Linked DNA regions of Homo sapiens: region 2 is linked to region 1. Evidence: promoter capture Hi-C in human tissues and cell types (Jung and others, 2019). All regions are on one chromosome and are shown on one strand. The core of a region is centred on a gene start or on the middle of the fragment in contact, and the rest is flanking DNA. Distances in the headings are between cores, read along the strand shown.

Region 1 (4,978 bases), core at 1,525-4,024:
CTTTGAGTCTGGGTCTGGATATTATCCTGTTTTAGTGAAGTATCTGAACTGTTTTGTTTTGCACACCAAAATTACAAAGACAGAACAAAAATTTTTATCCTTATTGGCTAGGAGTATTGGACGCCTTAGCTCTCCATTCCCTTGATAAGGAAACACTTTTCTGGCTAATATTCTATCAATAGGTCTCAACAAAGATTTACCACAAAAGAAGAAAAAAGTGAAGTGGATATAGAGAGGTTGTCACCAGGCTGAGGTATTAAAAGGATTGCAGAGATGAGACACATAGGCAAAATGCAAGGCGGGAAAAGGATTGTAAGATGGAGTGTCATAAGGCCCAGAGGGAAGCCTACAGGAAGAATCTGAGACAGGAGACCACCTGGTAAAGCCTGGTGTGTGGGCATAACTGGGACAGTTTATTCATTCCTCCATTAGCACAGCAATCTCCATCAGCTGGAAGGCCCTACAGTGTATACCCATCAGCTATATTAACAGGACTCAGAGCCTGTGTAGAAAGAAAATTACTCAGTAATTGTAATTTTCTTTTACTTTGAACAAAAGCTTATAAACATCTTTTTTTTTTCTGAATTAGCAAAAGATGATCATGAAACAACAGAACCTGCTTCTCAGTATTTGAAATACTTTATATTAATATATCAACCTGTCATAAAAGGCAATTTCATCATCAATCACTGATGAGGTTCACAAAAGTGTTATAGACACCTGGAGTCCAACAAAGTCAATTTTAACTAGCAAATGCAGTAAATACCATAGCTAAGCTATAAATACTTTAATAATTATTGTTTAGGATAGAAATACTTCTAATGATTTTTCTACAAAACATTTAATTCCTAAATAGGTAAATCCTTGGATAATATTTAAAACCTCATCCATTCCCTAGGTACACATTGACTAAATAATGAGGTACGGATAACATAGAAGTATAACTGCAGAAAATTGCTCTAGGAATCAAGTTGTGTTATGGATAGTCTTTACATTGATTATTCAAGCTAAAGGGATAGAGACGTTATTATATTTTTTTAAATTATGCATTAAGCTAATATTAAAATACATTTGTCATCCCCAAATAAATACCAATTGACTTGGGAAAAGGTAGTTATAAAAGAAACTCAACCAGAAAGGGAGAATTTAGTTATGAGGATGCACTTGACTTTTTGCGGGGAGTTAGCAGCGTGCAGGCTGACCTAAAATTTAGCAGAGGAGAATGGATAGCCCGACTATAATTTATATATCACTATTTTGTGCCTTAGCAAAAATAATCCTATATGGTTATGTCTTATGAAAAATATGGCTCATTAGGAACCACCTTATCAATGTTAATGTCAACAATTTTGCATATGTAATTATTATTTTATTAGAACTGCTCTTTGAGTAGTTGTATTGCTTTCCTGGCTTTAAGGTTTATTAGTTACCATTTTTAATGCTTAATACACGTCAGATTCCATGCAAACTACGCTGTCTACAATATTCTGGAAGGTACATCTTATTACTCCTAAAGTAAACAAAGCTAAAAGAGGTGAAGTGCCATATCCACTACTAAGAAATGGAGCCAAGATTCACACTCAGGTCTGACTGCCTGAGTCCATACCACGATACTATTCTGCCTCATAGTTTTGCTTACATAAACATTATTATGTACTTATTAAAAAATGGAATGATACACGGCTTAACTCCAACAGAATGCAGAGTGCCACAAATTAGTAATAAAGTTATCAACACAAGAAAATGCTGCTTCTGAGATTTATTTTTGAAAATTAGTCAAACATGTCGATCCTCCAGTAAAGCAAAGCATTTGTAAACTGGTTGTAATCATTTGTTTTCGTTATGAAAGTACTGCCAAAGTGTATTTTGTGAACTGCAACCGGGTAGTTCAGAACACAGGCTTTGGAGCTGAGGCTTCAATTCTAATTCCACCGCCAACTTGGGAGCCCTTGGACACATTCCTTCACTTCTCTTTGGTTCCTGTGTAAAATGGGATTCATTTGTAATAATTGTAGCGATGCACTTAGAACTTATGAACATTAAATGAGTTTAATATACGTAAAACATTTACCTGTCACATACGCACTCAAAGAATGCTGGCTCACATTACAGAACCCAAAGGCTTATTTATCCTTTTCGTTTATAAGGGTATTAAAACGCGTTTTCTATTTAGGATGGGTTTATACGGCTGCAACCCAAGGAGCATCTGTACTTTTAAGAGGAACTGGGCACAGCAAAACAGCATCTTCCTAGTCTAACAGTGAGACTACATTCACAGAGGACACATTTCATCAAGAACGACTTAACACGCCCAGATATCTCATATTATGCCCCTGCGGTAAGGCAAATCAAGTATGAAGACACACACTCCCTGTTTTCTTCAGCACTGAGATCACTGGTTCCCTCCGTTCCACACCGCGGCTCCCTCGGCTCGGAGCCACAGGGAACTATGAAAATCGGCACGCGAGGCCTAAGTGTCCCCAGAACCAGAGGAACCACAGTTGCGTCATAGCAGAAGGACCTCTTTTACAGCATCAGCAGTGGGATAGTCAGTGCCGAGTTTTCCTGGCAGGACAGCCGACAACCACCGCCACAGACCAGTACAAACATTCCAACCCAGGACCTTTTTTCGCGCGCCGACACAGCCGGAAGTGACGCGTACAGCCAGCACGCTGGGCCGCCAGCGGGACAGACGAGCGGGAGGGGCAGCGTGCGGGGAGCTGGGGGCGGGGCGCGGCCGCAGCTCCGTTTCCGGTGGCTCGTCGCGCTCGCTCACTCCAGCTGCAGCCACTCTCGCCCGTGGCTGCTTCCTCCATCCTGGTATTTTTTGGAGCTTCCATCCTGGTTCTTCCAAAGTGCCCGGACCCAAAACAGGAAGTAAGTGCGATGGAACCTTCAGGTTCCAACCGCCGCCAGGGCCGCTCCGCCCAGTGGAGCCTGTCCGGCCCCCTTGCTGCCCGCTAGCTCCCGCCGGCTGGCGCAAGCTGTCGGCGCCGGGGCACTGCGGGCGGGGTCGGAGCCTGGCCTTCCTGACGTTGCAGCTGCCGTCCCCGCACGTTCCGGCCAGGGCCTCCCTCTTAGGGCCGGGCGGTGCCCGTGGCTCAGGCTGCAGAGTAGGGAAGCGAGCGGCTGCCGAGGCACAGCGGCGATCCGGCGGGGGCGGAAAATGGCGGCGGCTTCGGAGGAGCTAAATGGCGCCGGGACCCCTGGGGGGTGGGGTGGGCCGGGAGGTTGAGTAGAGAACTGGGCCAGAAGGAGTGGAGACAGTAAGGAAGCCCTACTTGTTTTCTCGTGGTGTTCTATTTTTAGTTTTTATTTTTGTTACGTTTTCGGTTTTGTTTTATGGTCCAGCGTAGGAGAGGTAGGCTTGGGTGGGGTCGAGAGAGTGGGGGTGGGTCTCGACCCAACTTCCCCCCCTTTGCTTTTTTGTTCTTTTCCCTCGTTTGCGCTTTAGATTCTTCTGTAATTTTGCGGGGGTTCAGCCTTGCTCGGCGATTCACGGCCCAGACATAGAGAATCGGGATAGCTGGCCGAACCGTCTCTCTCAGTCTGACTCTCTTTAAAGAAGGGATGTGGGCTGGGGCGCGGGGACAGTCCTGGTGGAGCACGGAAAATGCGGCTGTAAAGTTGTAATTACCCTATTGTGCCGAGTTCCGAGAAAGTTCTTAAAATTGTTAAGTCCACTTTGTTCTCTAAAATGTACTTCGCTTTGAGAATTTCTTCAGGGAGGTATGTAGAATGTTTTACCACAATCTCCAGAGCAGATTTGAGAGTAGAAGTGGCCAAGTGCCCTTTTGTGCAATTGAATGATAGAGCATATGTCTTTATATAAAATACTCGGTGTAGATAAGGAAAAGGATAATAGTATACAGTATGAGTCAGGACTCCTCCCTTTCTCTCATTGAATTTGTGTAGTTGCTTTTTTCGCAACTCATTCATCTTTGTGTACCTCTTTTTAATGTACATGGATTTGATTATGTGTGCCTCCTTTCTGACAGTCGAGGCTGCATGTTGGGACGTCCTACAAAATGCATATTCTGTGGAATTATTTTTTAATATGACATGTCTTAAGCTTAAAGTGACGCCATTTGGAAAATTTTAAATTATACCTGTATTTTTAATTCGTGGGAGAAAACCATTTGTAGCTTTTAAGCTCCAAATACGAAAATATTCTTCCACTATGTTGAAAGTATTGCAAAATCTGTTTTTTTCAGTTAAGGGTTTTCATGTTTTTTCATTACTTCAAATTTCTTTAAGCTGGTTTTGAAATTATATTTCAAATAGCTTTCTGAGGATTACTGTCTTTTAATAACTTGAATAATTTGCCATCACTTTAACATTTAAAGAATGACTATGGCGATACACCAAAATCTTATCTTTTTGCTCTTATGGTGTACTTAGAGACAGGATTTCATGTATTTGGTTAGGATTTAGAAATTCTGTTAAGATTTAGAGAAAAAAGGTTAAAGCTACATTCCTTAACGTTACAAAAATTGTCATGCTGAGAGAATCCAATTTGGTGTGAGAATAATTTTTTTCTTCCATACAGAAAGCACAAAAACCAGCCTGATTGTATCTGGAAAAAACCATTATGTTACAGGTGTGAAAAATACATTTCATGATTGTGGTGATTTTTATCTCATTTTAACTCTCGATACTAGGTGCTTCTGTATGCCACCAAACAAGCTAATTTTTTTTCTTACTATTTTAGTTGATAGGCTCACCCCAAAATATGCTTTTGGGGACTGATTTAGCACCTGCATATTCTGCGTGAATCTCTTTAATTGGTTGCAGTTGAGCTAATGGTGGAGCCAAAATGCTATTGCCCTGTCTTCATCAACATTTAATCAGTAAGTACTGGGCATTGCATCTTTCTTAGAACTTTAAGTTCATACGTTGCAGTTATATGAATACATTATTTTATGTAAACATTTTTCTGAGTGTTCAGGTTTTAGAAGTATTTTGAGGGGAAGAAATC
Region 2 (5,209 bases), core at 1,849-4,348, 300 kb before region 1:
GCTCCTTCCATTATCTCTTCAGTATTTAGCAAGGGTAATCATCCCCCACCTTGGGATGGAAATTCCTGTGCACGTATTCAAACACCAAATGTTCACTACATGTGAGGCTCAGTTCTGGTGCTGGGGATAGCACAATGAGAAAAAACATCCATGACCTTGGTAGGCCCATGAATTTATATGCTTTTAGGTAACATAAGGTACTACCATCATTTTCAATTGAAAATTGTCTTTATTAAGAAATTAAAATATATAGTCCTATGTAATGATCAAAACTGTGTCTTCACATTCAATCTCATTTCCTCCTGAGGTCTGGCCTGTCTTAGGCTGAGAGCCTGCAGTAGTTGGCATCTTCCTTGGTGCTTATGTTCCCCAATCCACCAGTTGCTACTTCCCTCTCAGCGCTGATTAAAGAGTAATAAGGAAGCAGTTGGACAGTTCTTTGTGGCTAGATGACTTTATGATCTCTAAGTCCACACATGGAAAGATACATCCTTCAGATGCCTGGAAGATGACTAGAGGGCGTTTTCATCTTTCATGTGATCTTTAGAAATTACCCTCTGGCCTTTTCCCCTGCAGGACCTTGAGTGAGTTGACTGGGAGATCTCTATTTTGATTTGTCTCTGGTGGCTCCATTCCCATTCTCAGGGCATCCAGCTATCCTACCCCAAGCCTCTTTCTGTGAAGGTCTCCAGGCCAAGACATAAGCCCAAGACCATGCATAATGGTTTTTGTGTGGCCCATCTTGTCCATGCATACCATTCACATAACCTTTGCTTTGATAAATTCTCAGAACAAAGGACTACCTCAAGACAGTAGCAAGTTTTATGCAATGCCAATAGAGCAACTAGCCTTTTCCTCACCTTCTAGATTTCCAAGGCAGGAATCAGGTCCCAATTCAGGGCATCCTCTTCCTGCAGAAACACCTGACTTTTTGTAAATGGCCACACTGAAGCACTCCTTGCTAGGCTTTCAGCGAGGAGACAAAAATCACAGTACAGCTTTGCCCAAGATCCCCTCCTCCTAAAAGCCTCTCCTCACCTCTTCTTGTAATGTCTTAAAGTGTGTGAGTAGTTTTAAGAGTTACAGAAATGCTTTTAGAAAAGGTTTCCTGGAAATTTTGCAAATTTGGATTTGTCTCCCCCTCCCATGATCTCTGATATCCTTCACACTGGCTTCAGAGTCATAGGCAGGAACTGAGGCAGAAAGAGGACAATGCTAACATCATATTATACATATACGTAGAAAACAAATTGTCCCAGATTCAGATTTATGAAGGCTTTTGCATCACAGAATCAGATAGCAGCTTGTTTTCTGAGAATTTGACAAGAAAGGAGCCTGCAATTAGGGGTCCCAAGGTGGAGAGCACTGGACTAGTTAAGAGAGACAAGAACTTTAAAATGACGAGGATGGATTATGCTTTCAGGATTCAAAGTAAGCAAGGCCTAAAGAATTATGCCACAGGGCAGGCTGAATTTTTTTTAAAAATCAAAAGTAAAATGAAGCATTCTAAAATTATGTGGCTTCTCCAGTTATGTGTTCAGTCTTCAGCTTTCCTTGATTAGAGAGGAAGGTCAGAGACTTTACAGAAATGTTTTATAGATGCCTAAAGTCATTTAGGACATTTGAAATTATGCTACTTTATAATAGCATGTGCCTAAGGGGAAAGGAAAAAAATCTAAAGTTACTCTGGGATGAGAATGAGAAGACATGATAAACCCTGGTTCTGAGGAACTTTCAGGGTAAACAAAGAGGGAGAAGTGAAAATTACCTGTCAAGAATGGGTGTATAGAAGCCTAGAGAACATGAAGATTGAACAGTTAGTACCTGATGAATCAAAATTCCAGAGATGCCAATAAGCAAAAGCAAAGGTACCACAGAAGAAAGCTGACAGTGATCCCCAACAAAGAATAGGGAAACCAGTAGCTGATAGGCAGAGCTTCCAGCAAGCAAGGGAGATAGAAGAATGTAAAAAACAAACAAACAAACAAACAAAACAAATTTGTTTATAATAACCTTAAATCTTAAAGAAGCCAAGTTCATAGACTGAAATCATCAGCAATCTGGCCACTTCATCATTGAATATGTTTTACTATTTAAGATTCCACCTTCTGTGGCTTTGCAGAAATATCTTTATAAAAATATAAAGAAAACAAACAAGAAAATCCATGTGAAGTCTTGGCAAGCATTCAGAAGCACCCCACACAAATGGTGTTTGCTTGCAAATCCTAAGCAATATTTCCAAGACTACCCCAAACATAGAAGATTCAATATAATTACTGTATTGATTTGGCTACAATAAGGACAGAGCTGTCAATTATTCTGGATTTTTCATTTTGGTCTTATTTCAGCACTCTCTTTAGTTGGCCACTTGACTGAATGTACAGCCAGACACTTACTAGCCAACCTTCTCTTGTAGGTGCAGACGACAACCATGTGCATCTCTGTCAGCCTGAGTGGCTTTGTGGTCTTGGGCTGTTTGTTTGCACCCAAGGTTCACATCATCCTGTTTCAACCCCAGAAGAATGTTGTCACACACAGACTGCACCTCAACAGGTTCAGTGTCAGTGGAACTGGGACCACATACTCTCAGTGTAAGTATGGAACTCAGCACTAACTCCTTCATACATAGCATTGTAGTCAGGACCAGCCTGCCAAGAACAGGCAACACATGTCTGTCCCCATGAACAATCTCAATTCGATTTTACTAAGTATGGATTTAAACACTGTGAGTCAGGTATTGTGCTAAGTGCTGGGGATTCAGTAAGGAGCAAAGAAGTCAAAGTTTCTGTTTGGGCAGCACATACAGTCTAGCAGGGAACAAAGACATTAAATACATAGCTGCAGTGAGGGGTTTGACCATGTTGTGGGGTTAGATAACCTGGTCTCTCGTCCTGTTCTGCACTCAATTTAATAGATAACTTCAAACAAGTCACTCTATTGCTTTCTGCCTCATTTTACTAATTAAAATAGGGGACTGGGCTAGATTGGTGTTTTATAAAATATATTATATGTCACACAGATGCCAAAGGAGCTTCATGAAAAATTAAAAGGGGAAGATAATAAAATACAATGAAAAGTGCTACATTCCTAATTCCCCCTTGGAAGTTTACAGTACTTCCTTTAACATGAGTGTGTTATAGGTTTTGAGAATCTCTATGCAAGAAAACCTGTTTAACTTTGTTAAAAGTTAAAATACTTTTAAAAATATTTTATCACAGTAAAACTAACATCCCGTGGAACACACCTTGGAAAATGCTGGAATAGATCTTCCTCCTACTTCAATGACACAATGTTTTCTCAGCTTAGAAGGCAGTGTGAACTGAAGGATACTAGGATAGTTCCCAGTCCCTAATTCTCTCTGCTACTGGCCTGCAAATGTCTGAAACACTATCCTTAGAGAATCATTGATTTAATTCTTTAGAGTTCTCTAAAGCACAAATGTGCCTGAAGGGGATAACCTTTTAAGCCATTTTCAGCTAAATTGTGGTATGAAGTAGAAGCAATTCACTGACACTGGATGAGGGGGAAGAAAAGAACTGGAACCATGAGAGGGGAAGGGAGGACAGAAAGTGACAGAGACAAATGACTGCTTCACAATTTTGCCTCGAGTTGATCAGAAAGGATACTTCAAAATAGCTCAGCATCACAGGGTCAGCAATCACATTAGCGCCCCAATTTCTCTACCAAAGTACAGAATTTAACAGGGCAGCCCTTCCCCCAGGAAACTGAAGGAAGACTGACAGTCTGAGAGCACATGTTCATGGATAGGCTGCACATTCCTGTCTTTCCAGCTAAACTCCAACGTGTCACAAAAGTTGAGCTTCAGGGCATGGCAAAGCCTGTGAGGTCGTTTTCCATGGATCTTAGAGAAATATGTTGATTTCTTGAGCAAACAAAGCTCTTTTTAGCAGACTAATCTTAACAGCTACCTAGTCCAGCCCAGAGAGAACTGTCAATAACTAATAAAAATATTAACAACAGGTAACAGGAACTTTCATTTGTTGAGTGTTTTTCATATGCTGGGCACCATGCTAAATACTTTACACACATGTGTGTATGTGTGTGCTGTCTTATTCAATGCTCCAACCCCTTAAGGTAAAGAAACTCACCCAGGGTCACACACTTTAAAAATGGCAGAAACAGAATTTAGAGTCAGTTCCTATGATTTCAAAGCCAGTGCACCTAACTACTGTATCGTGCAGCCTCTTCCAGACAGCAAGCTGGGAAAGTTCTCATGGCCAGGCTTTGCAGAGAGAATAAAAAGAAGGTTATCCAAGCAAAATTGTCTCATTGCTAGCTCAGAACTTTTGCTTGTTATTAGAACAATTTAGCAGAGTCCATAAGTCTTCCATAGACGTTATTCAAAATTGCGTATATCCAGACCTCAGTAATTTAGAAATGGCAGAATTTTCTAATGCATATGCTGGGAATTAACAAATTCCAGAAGGGATAGCAAGGGCACTTTCTCCAATCAAGTCTCTTGTTAGAAATTCAGAAATATCCATCTACATAAAAACAATGTACTGCAACCACAGCAGACCTGTTAAACTATTATTCAGTATGCTAATCTGATAGTGACCCAATTAGTACTTCAAGACAGGTGTTTGAACATTGTTGGAATGTCTTGTTAATAAAATTATAAATAAACTTTTTTTTAAAAAAGGTCTAAATTCAGACCTCATTGTTTCAGCAATATTTCCCTAATCAATACAAATCAATGAAGTAGTACCATGTAACAAAGTGAAGATTTTATATAACATCTCTTGGCATTTTAACGTGCATAAGTAACAAATACATTCACCTGTTATTTGCATTTTTACTCTTTTATTCAAAGTAGTTTTATATTCATGAACTCATTTTATCCTCATGAGTACCAGATATCACAAGTTCTATTTTATAGGTAAGAAAATTGAGAATTGAAGTTACTTCTCAAGGATATACAGTGATACAAGAGTCAAGAGTTGAGCCTGATTTCCTGACTTTCAATTAAAAACTTTCCCATTTTAATAAGTTGGAAGTATTTCATATCAAGAAATTTATTCATTCATTAAATTATTGAGTACCTACTACACACCAAAAATTTCTAAGCACTGTGTACACAGTAACGAATAGGACGGAATCCCTGGCCCCATGAAGCTTGGTGTCTAGGACAGTGGTTTTCATACTGTAGACTGTAAGCCATTATTGGGTCATGAAATTTAGTATCTTT

The links. Contacts are between HindIII fragments. The study calls those that stand out against the background at their distance.
Region 2: a fragment that was not itself captured here is called in contact with the fragment with the promoter of DMTF1 in region 1 in 1 of the 25 tissues and cell types used here (dorsolateral prefrontal cortex).

The regions. Positions count from the first base shown.
Region 1 is chr7:87,149,679-87,154,656 of GRCh38, forward strand. It overlaps DMTF1 (cyclin D binding myb like transcription factor 1), which reads left to right and starts at 2,775. Exons shown (of 18, transcript NM_001142327.2): 1 at 2,775-2,877. It overlaps DMTF1-AS1 (DMTF1 antisense RNA 1), which reads right to left and starts at 2,815. Exons shown (of 2, transcript NR_136253.1): 1 at 2,624-2,815; 2 at 1,745-1,980. RefSeq lists enhancers at 1,845-2,408, 2,324-2,563, 2,409-2,970. The HindIII fragment of the contact is 5,091 bases long and covers 1-4,817 here.
Region 2 is chr7:86,847,954-86,853,162 of GRCh38, forward strand. GRM3 (glutamate metabotropic receptor 3) reads left to right here. Exons shown (of 6, transcript NM_000840.3): 5 at 2,417-2,591. Among named protein-coding and RNA genes, the nearest start is that of GRM3-AS1, 47 kb to the left of the region's middle. The HindIII fragment of the contact is 6,842 bases long and covers 1-5,209 here.